Linked DNA regions of Homo sapiens: regions 2 and 3 are each linked to region 1. Evidence: promoter capture Hi-C in 16 types of primary human blood cells and fetal thymus (Javierre and others, 2016). All regions are on one chromosome and are shown on one strand. The core of a region is centred on a gene start or on the middle of the fragment in contact, and the rest is flanking DNA. Distances in the headings are between cores, read along the strand shown.

Region 1 (2,978 bases), core at 249-2,748:
TGCAATTTTATGGTGTGGTTATTGGGCACGTTCATGAGGACAGTTTCTGCAAATGTCGGTTGTATAAAAACAAACTTACATACATAGACACATACCAACTCAGGTCTTTTGCTCAAATTTTGATTTCCCGCGTTCCTATGTTAGGAGTTCGTGAGCTTGATCTAACAAGCTTTAGTAGTCATCTTGGGGCAGTGATGTCTTTGAAAATGGGGGGACCCAACTCTGTCAGGTTTCTTAGGAAAAAGTTCTCTTTAGGAGAAAAGGGAGAGGCCCAAGGAAAGGGCACGCAGAGACTCTCAACTTTAGGAGAAAAACGTGTCTGCGCTGCACACAGGAAAGAAAGGGCAGTGACGGAGGCAGTTGAAATCAGAGGAGGAATTTACAGATTTCACACGAACTGGACAAATTTCCACTGGGTTAACCCTGGTCACGTGTGGAGCACAGGCACAACTCCCACTCCCAAGTAGGGGCGCATACTCTTAGTCCTTTCTTTTCTCCTTCTCTCTCCCCCTCCCTCGTGTCGGTCCCTTTTCTCCATCGCCCCTACCTGGAAAGGAAGATTTCCAAAAGTGGGACCCCTGTGGCTGGTCCTTGGTGCAGTACACCTGGCTGTTCCACCCGTTAGCCAGCGTCCAGGACTGGTACCCCTCCATGGAGATGTAGGCCTCGTGCCGAGGCTCCCCGGAGCCGAAAGTGGACACCATGTCGATATAGCCGGGCACGTGCTGGTAAGGGCTCGTATAGCCCTGGTAGAAGGATACCTCCTTGGCTCGCGCTGGCACCTCGTTGGCCGGTACGCTGCTGCTCGCCAGGCCTGACACGTCCATGTACTTCTCCACGGGAAAGCCTCCCAGCGAGGCGTGCGGCGATGACTTGAGCGCATTCTGCTGTAAGCCCACGCCGTGCGACATACGGCAGCTGTAGTAGCCGTTGCCGAAGTGGTAGCCGTAGCCCAGCGCTGGAGCGCTCGGGGGCGCTGCAGCGGCCGCTGCAGGCGTGGGTGCTGGGCACTCTTTGGCTGGGGGAGCCTCCGGGCGCGCCGCTACAACGGCAGAAGAGGACGACGACGAGGAAGAGCCCGTGCGCTCAGAGGTCCCGGGGTACGCAAAGCCGGAGGCTGCCGCCGCCGCCGCCGCAGCCGCCGCTGCCGCCGCCGCCGCCCGCCCCGAATGCGTCCCGGCGAACACAGGCGCGGAGAGAAAGCCGCGGCACTGGCCTGACGCCGCCGCCGCCGCCACCGATGAGGAGGAGGAAGAGGCCGGGGCGCCACCGGCGCCCCCGCCGTCTGCCCGCAGCCCGTCCATGTCCCAGCTCCCGGCGCGGCTCATGGCCCGGCCTGGCCCGGCCCCGGCCCTGGCCCTGGCCCCGCGCAGGACACCATGGCGCGGCGCGCCTCCTCCCTCCTCTCCTTTCTCTCTGGTTCGCTCGCTCCCGCCCTCTTCCTCTAGCCCTCTCTCCCTCTGTGAGCCTCCCGCCTCCGGCCCGCCTGCCCTCCAACAGGTTAGCTCATCGCGGGACGTTTATAAAAACGAAGTTCAGGTTGGGAGGGGGCCTGGGCCGGTCGGGGGGCCGCCTCCCGCCCCGAGGGCCCCCGCCGGGGGCGTGCCATTGGCTGCGCGCGGCCACGTGGGGGTAGGAACGCGGGGGAGCCTGGCTCCCGGCCCAGGCCTGGCTGGACCCACCCACTCCGGCCCCCACCCCTCTCCTGCCCCTTGCAGGGTCCACCTCCCATTCCCGCCCTCCCCCCCGACCCAGGCGTACGCGCTGCAGCCACCCCCACGAGTTGATTGCGCGACGGCCCATCCCAGGCCCTGTCTGCGACTGAGGCGGGCGCCAAGGCCTGCGCCTTGTCTCGGCAACCGCTGTTTTTGCCACCTCTCCTCGGCTCCCCGAGTTGCACAGCAAAATGAAGACGAAGGACAGAGATGATCAGAATGATGTGAAAACAGGCCCATTTTTTTATCCTGTTGCTGAATCCCTCAGTTAGTCGACTTCTAGACCCCAAATCCGAGTGAGCTAATTTGCCCTACCTTGTGCACTGGTACCCGGCAAAGGCATTTCACACAGGTAAGAGGCATTGGAGCAGACCCTTCCTATACACACACGCTGTCCGTTCGGAAAATGCCCATGAAGCGCCCTTGGGGCTGGCGGCAGAGACTTAAACAGATGAAAGACAGGCATCGGCGCAGTGAGCCTGACAATCTGTCCCAGAAAGAAAAGTCCATGGATGCCTACTCAACGCTCTTCGCCTCTACTCTTGGGCCAGCCGGGAGTGCTTCCGACCTGGGCCTCTCAGCTCCCGCGGGTCCTTCTTCGACCCGCAGAAAGACCCTGAGAACGGCGCCGGGGGAGAAAGCCACTCAGCCTCCCACCGTGAAACTTCTGTGTCTCTCCAGCAGCCGACCGGCCTCGCATTTTGCAGTCACCACCCACTCCCGCCCGTTTCTCACACCAAATTAATTGAAAACTTCACTTTCCCAGGGACCTTTGTTTCGCTTCCTTTTCCAAGCTGTCAACTGCAGAGAACTGAGAGGGGCAAATTAAGAGGGCGCTTGTTCCAAGCAAATTCGGATTTTGTGATAGGAGCAGCCCAGAGAAACGGTCTGACTTCAAGGGGTTAGGTGGGCTCAGGGCAGTGCTGGTGGGGCTAGGTCCAGCTCTGGAACCAAGCTGCCAGGGTGTTAGGGATTACAGCCCTGTCCCTCATCATCCCTTTCTGTTGCTCCTCAGCCTCAGAGCTCCAGCCCACCATCCCTCAATCTCAGCAACTAATGGGGCACCAATGAGAGTCCTGCTGTGACTTTGGGGCTCTGCCTTAGGAACAATATTAGATCCAATGAGCCCAGGGTTCTGGGGGTGGATATGGGATCCTTCAGAGCCCATTTGGTTCTGTGGCATGCACTCCCCAAGCCAGCCCATCTCCAAGAAAATCACTCCCCTAAGCCTGTGATTGGTGAAAGCTTGTCACCCAGCACCAC
Region 2 (2,978 bases), core at 293-2,792, 4.0 Mb after region 1:
AAAGGGGAAAAAATAACCAGAAAAAAAGTTTAAAAAATAGATCTGGAGGGAGGAATAGCGAGACAGGGAGAACAACAGAAATGCTCAAAAGCCCATGTGCAGCTGTGTTGCACAATTAAATTGAATTTTTTTTTCTGCAGTTGATGAATGTGACTACTGCAAATGTGCCTCTGTAGTTAGCTATCATTTGTTGTTCCGTGACAGGAAAAGGATAATTACCTCTCAGAGAGAATCAAAGGCTGACATGCCCTTTAGACACAGCCATGAATGCAGAGCTCGATAGAATGCTTGAATAAGAATCTAGTGTTCTCTGCCCCCTTCTACTGAAGAATAAATTTTGTTAAAATGCAAGAGCACCACCAGTAAATTTGTTGAACCCTAGGTGTTCAAAAATATGAGGTGCATCTATCGACTCATCCCATTTGCAAAAATAAAACTGCATTTTGAATTCATTTCTATTATATTCATGGACAGTAAGATAGTGAGATATGCATTAAATTTCTTTTCCCAGTAGGGGTCTGATTCAACATTTCCTATGAAAGAACAGAGAGACACTATCCTTTTTTCCCAGGCTAGTTAGCCTATAATTTAAAACTGTCAAAAACACAATTTTGTTCAAAGTCTTCAATAAAAGCTTCTCAGATATAACCCAAAGAGATTTTACTAAAGTTTGATTCAGACACTGTTACAATATTTTTAAAGCCATAAATACATTTAACTGATATTTTACTGGCTTTTTTCTTAAAGTATTTGAAGGCTTACGAAGAAAAAAAGGCAGCATCTTTTCAAGGTGACTAAGCCTTCCATCCTTTAGACAAATGGGAAGTATTCAATGGTTCATATTAATGAGAACAGTACTTTAAAGGGCACTGATGTGATCATCTTTAACAGAATGCATTACTTTAAAATGAAAACATATATTCGGCATGTCTACTTCAAAACAGTTATGGGGGAAAAAAGACCTAAAAGTAGGTAACAGATTATAAAGAAAAGTCTTAAATTCAGAAAACACACATACACATACATTCAAAAAGTAAGGATAGAATACTCTGTGAAAAATAAACAACGGTTTACAGGAAAAATGAACCAGACAAAAAAAGAACAGAAGATCACCGTTTCAGGCTATTTGTTAATCTACCAATTTGAAAGGTAAGGCTTGCTTGAACTAACACTTTATTATCTTCATATCACAGAAATACATTTCACTTCATTCCTTTATAAAATTTAGTTTTTCTCCTGTCTTATTAAAAACCCCAGGGTTGAGATGCTCATCCCCTTCTTAGGTACTCCCTTCCATATTTGGTGTGATTTTGAATAAAGGGAAACTATAGACCAGTATGTCAAGCTAAAACAAAAGCAGCCATGTAAATATTGCTTGCTCCTTCTATAAGTTTCTTTGCTGACCCTGGTATAATTCATTTTTATAAAATCTTTTTTTTTTTTCAACTCAGGGAACAATATTGCAGCCTGGCAGTTCACATACTGATATCAGACTGAAATGATGGTTCTGAATCATAAAACATGTCATCAACTTTATACCAAGCCACCAATAACCTTTGTACCATTTGCCAACCCTCCCTTTACTTGTCAATGTAAGGCTTACCTGATTGTGTTTCCAATTACAGAGAAGGGAGCCCCTGCTCTGCAAGCTGCAATTGCTTCATCTCTACACCTCCTGGCAACCTCCACTAACTTTTTACCACATTCGTCCACATTGCCCACCAAAAATGTTTCAGAGGTGTCTCCATGGTAGCCATTGTAATAGACCTAAACATAAGCAGAAATTTAAAAATATGTCCTTGTTTAAAAATCTACTTTCCTAAAGTATACATTGTATTCATTTATGTATTTAGTAGACTCATGTTTTACCCTTCCAGAATTATTCATTTGCCTATCAAAAAAAGAAGAAATAGATATATTGAAACCTTGCAGAAATTTAAAAGATGAAGCCATGCAATGATATTGCAAAATTTAAAAACAACTATGTTAACTAGTATGGTTATTTCAGCATTATGATGAACAATACTACTGTAATATTTTGATTCCTCACTTTATTTCTGAGAAGACAAAATTATATAAGCAAAAATTAGTAGCCAAAGACCTTGATCTACAATTACCACAACAGGTTTAGAGAACCAAAAAGTATTTAACATAGTGAAAAGTTTCTTCAATGTCATGAAGACTTACTTGATTTTGTATTTACCAGTTCTACATTTGAAGTGATATATAATGACAAGAAGAAGTAAGATAGACATGTCTGTATTCTAACAAACAAATAGGAGAATTCAGTTCTAAGAATTGAAGTGGTTCCATATAGGAATGAAATGTGTTACAGAAAAATCCTATGTCTAGAAGTGAAATCTTAATCAAATGTTCCAGACAGCCGAACGTTAACAGAAAGCACTATATATGGATATCTAAAGAATTAGAATATAATAAAACAAGCTTAAAAGCACAATTACAGAAAGTATAATTTTATCAGTCTTCAGTGATTCAGAAGCCAAGTAGGATCTTGAAAGATACCAGATTCATTATAAATCATTGATAACCAAGCACTATAGTAAATATAAAAGGCAGAGGCAACTGTTTGGATACTGATCCTTTGATGTAGCATGGAATTTGCTACTTTGCATAAATTTGTCCTATCTAATTATTTTTCACATTTCTCTTGCTCATAAGGTAGAATGTAGAAACTGTTATAAAAAAGATGTTTATATGAGCTTTCAGTCTGTTGTGATACTGAATTAATGTCTTAAATCTGTATACTACTCTGCATTTCTTAAAAAATGCTCTCATATTCTGTGAAGGAAGCAAGAAAGGTCTTTATTAGATCTTCAGTTTATAATTCAGGAAACTGAGGCACAGATAAGTAACTTGTTTAAGGTTGGTGGCAGAATATAGAGGTAGATTCAGGTTAATATGATGGATTATTGGCTTCTAATCGAGTGTTTTCTCTACTATATCAAATTATCTTAATT
Region 3 (2,978 bases), core at 354-2,853, 4.0 Mb after region 1:
GACATGTAAAAAATGCAAATCATTCGGCTCCAAACTCTCCATACCAGAGAAGTACAAAAGTTACTGTATAAATTAAAAATCACCACGTCCTCCTTATTCGTTTCTCCCCGTGCGCTTAAAGTAAACAGTGCGTTTGAACAGTGCGTTCCTTGCGCCCAGCAGAACCCTGAATTGGCAAACAGCCTCAGGCGAAGTCCATTTCTCAATAAATAAAACCCCCTCCCTCCAATGCCCCCAGATTCCCACACCAGCTACACAGATGGTCAGGCAGAGTGTCCCAGGATCCGGAGATGGTCAGCCCGGCAGGACCCGGGCCGCTCAGACCTTGTGGCTTTTTGCTGAGGCCGCAGAATGAGGACAGCGGACGGATGAGGACCTGGACTTTACCAGCGCACAGACAGAGCAAAAGGAGACAGGAGACTGACAGGACAGAAAAGAGCTTTTGCTTTTTCTACATTTTGTTTTTGTTTTGTTTTTTCCTGATAGTCCCACAAAGCTGAAGGTCGGCGGGTCGGGTGGAGCGGGTTTATCTTGCTGCTTGGGCTGTCTCAGGTGGCAGTGGCTTCCCTCCGAGGCCACTCTCTGCTGCCACTGCTCGGCCCAGGCCAGGGTTCAGGCTAGAGCGCGGATGCCGGGAAGTTGCTGGGCCGGACCTCGCGGGGCTCCGAGGAGATGGAGGGCGTCCCGCCTCCACTGTTCCTTCTTCCCTCTGGGTCCTTCTTTTCCGGACGGGATGGATGGACCTGGAGGCGGGAGGGACCTGGGCCGGGGAGACAAGAAGGAGACGGGCGGGCAACCTCACATAAGTTGGGGTTGCTGCATAGCTTCTTGGTGCGCTGAAGGGTACCACGATGTGTAGCTGGGGATATAGGAGCCCGCGTTTCCTCCTGAGCCCTTCCCGGATGAAGAGTTAGGGTTCCAGCCGGGCGGCACGGGTGGGGAGCCAGCAGACAGGGCCCGACCGTTGGCCAACGCACTACCCTCCAGAGCCGCCCCACCCTGCTTCATCAGCTTCTTGAACTTGGATCGCTTGTTTTGGAACCAGATCTTGACCTGCAAGAGCGGACAACAACGTGACTCAGGCTGGGACCACTGAGCCTACCTAGGTCACAGGGAGGAAAAAAGGGACCGCAGAACAGCAGAGATAGGACCTCCCAACCCTGCGCCAGCTGGCAGCTCCCTGCCAGAGAAGCAGAGACATCCCTCCTTCCTCCCTTCCCCCATAAGAGCCAAAGGCTCGAAGGCCGAACCTCCCGCCGCCGTCAGCCCACGGGGGCAGCTCTCAGAGAGCCAGGGAGGAGTTGTGATGAGGGGAGAACCGGGATCCAGGCCTTAGCCTGCCAGGGGCTCAGTCCGACCGTGGCTACCGCCTGCGGAAGATACAGCGCCTGCATAACACCGAGCCAGCAATTCCAATATCAACATCAATAAAAAGAATCGAAAACCTAGGAAGGAGTGGAGGAAATTTATTTGCAACGCGACCCAACTTTTCTATGCGCCATCTTTTCTGCCCTTGAGTTGGGACGGACTAAGGAGGCCTCAAGGTTTTGCTGAACTTCTCTTTGGATTCAAAACCATTCTTGCACTAGTGTCTGTTTGCTTTCTCCAGCTCTGCTCCAAATCCCGGACCGGACGTCGGAAACCCGCGCCCGCCGCCGTCAGGAACGCTCACGGGCTCCCCGGAGTCTTACAGAAAGCCGGGAAGGAAGGTCCCGTTTCTTCTCTAAGGTCTGGGACTTGAGAGGTGAGAGGGCGGAGGAAAGGATCTCCCCCCACCCCCAACCGGTAAGAAGGAGGAGGAGGAGGGAGGCTGAGGCGCGGACCCAGGCCCCGAGTGATTAGTCACACAATTTAAAGGCAAAGGAGGGATTAAGCCCGGAGTCTATTGTTCCAGTTGTTTAGGCACGTGTGACCTCTGAGTTCCCAAACAAATCGTCTGGGGAAATCCTTCCTGCGCCCTAATCAGATTGTCCAGGGACAGAGGGCCGGACGGCAGGCAGCTCGGGATACCGAGAGCAGTGACAGAGCTAGGGCAGAGGGAATGAGGGAGGAAGGAGACACGCTGAGAGCCAGGGGTGGACACAAACACATACACACAGTGACACCCCGACCCTGAGTCCCAGCGAGCAACAAATGAAGACCCGGGCGCAGGCCGGCCGCGGAAAGCCTGCGTGGCAGAACGGAGCGGCAGCGGCGAGGTACCTGAGTCTGTGTGAGTCCCAAAGAGGCCGCGAGCTCCGCCCTCTCCGGCAGAGCTAGGTACTGAGTTTGCTGGAACCTCCGGTTCAAAGCCTGCAACTGCAAACTGGAATAAATCGTCCTGGGTTTACGGATCTTTTTTCCCTTGCCATTGAAGCGCACTTCACCGCCTTCCACCACCGTGCTCTTCTCCGAGTCCGCCCCTGGAGGGACAGCAGAAGTAGGGCCCGTTGTTAATACGAGGGGCCGCCTTTAGTGCGAACAGCCGAGAGCGAGTGGCTACCGAAGGGTGGCGGAGGCAGCACCAGGGAGAGAACGTTCAAGAAACTCTGAAAGCCAGGGAAGGGTCCCCCAAAATCCGAGGGCCTGTCCCGGGACGCTGCAGGAGGGATAGAGCCGTTCCCAGGAGCTCAGCTCCTGCCTTTGCAGGGAAAGTTTGCTATTTTTGCAGGCGGTAGTTGAGGTTTAATTACCCTTAATTGCATACATTGTTTATAGCGCTACGCAATAAATAATTACCGAGACTAATACGTGCACATGTGGGTTTCTGTTTTCCAGCGGGGCATTGTGTGCTCTGCACACCGAGCCGCCCAGAGGCCCAGCCAGTGCCAGGAGACGCTCTGGGATTTATCCTTGGCTGGATAGTTGCAAATTGAGGGAATTTTTAAAAAAATTTATTTGCTGTGACAAGGATCTATAGATTGATATTCGAAACCTCCACTGCTCCCGCGCCCTCCCCACCCCCACCCCACCTCGCTCTCCTCTCTTCTCTTTCTCTC

What was found. Contacts are between HindIII fragments. The CHiCAGO score rates a contact against its expected background, and 5 or more counts as called.
Region 2: a fragment that was not itself captured here is called in contact with the fragment with the promoter of HOXD13 in region 1 in 2 of 17 cell types (naive B cells and total B cells); the score reaches 6.3 in naive B cells.
Region 3: a fragment that was not itself captured here is called in contact with the fragment with the promoter of HOXD13 in region 1 in 6 of 17 cell types (total B cells, naive B cells, total CD4 T cells and 3 more); the score reaches 31.5 in total B cells.

The regions. Positions count from the first base shown.
Region 1 is chr2:176,091,241-176,094,218 of GRCh38, reverse strand. It overlaps HOXD13 (homeobox D13), which reads right to left and starts at 1,498. Exons shown (of 2, transcript NM_000523.4): 1 at 548-1,498. The coding sequence starts at 1,328. The HindIII fragment of the contact is 2,791 bases long and covers 172-2,962 here.
Region 2 is chr2:172,069,696-172,072,673 of GRCh38, reverse strand. METAP1D (methionyl aminopeptidase type 1D, mitochondrial) reads right to left here. Exons shown (of 10, transcript NM_199227.3): 6 at 1,604-1,767. Among named protein-coding and RNA genes, the nearest start is that of DLX1, 14 kb to the left of the region's middle. RefSeq lists an enhancer at 1-883. The HindIII fragment of the contact is 1,811 bases long and covers 637-2,447 here.
Region 3 is chr2:172,086,078-172,089,055 of GRCh38, reverse strand. It overlaps DLX1 (distal-less homeobox 1), which reads right to left. Exons shown (of 3, transcript NM_178120.5): 2 at 2,203-2,402; 3 at 1-1,053. The coding sequence ends at 799. Among named protein-coding and RNA genes, the nearest start is that of DLX1, 2.1 kb to the right of the region's middle. RefSeq lists enhancers at 227-838, 1,452-2,063, 2,678-2,978. The HindIII fragment of the contact is 3,945 bases long and covers 1-2,978 here.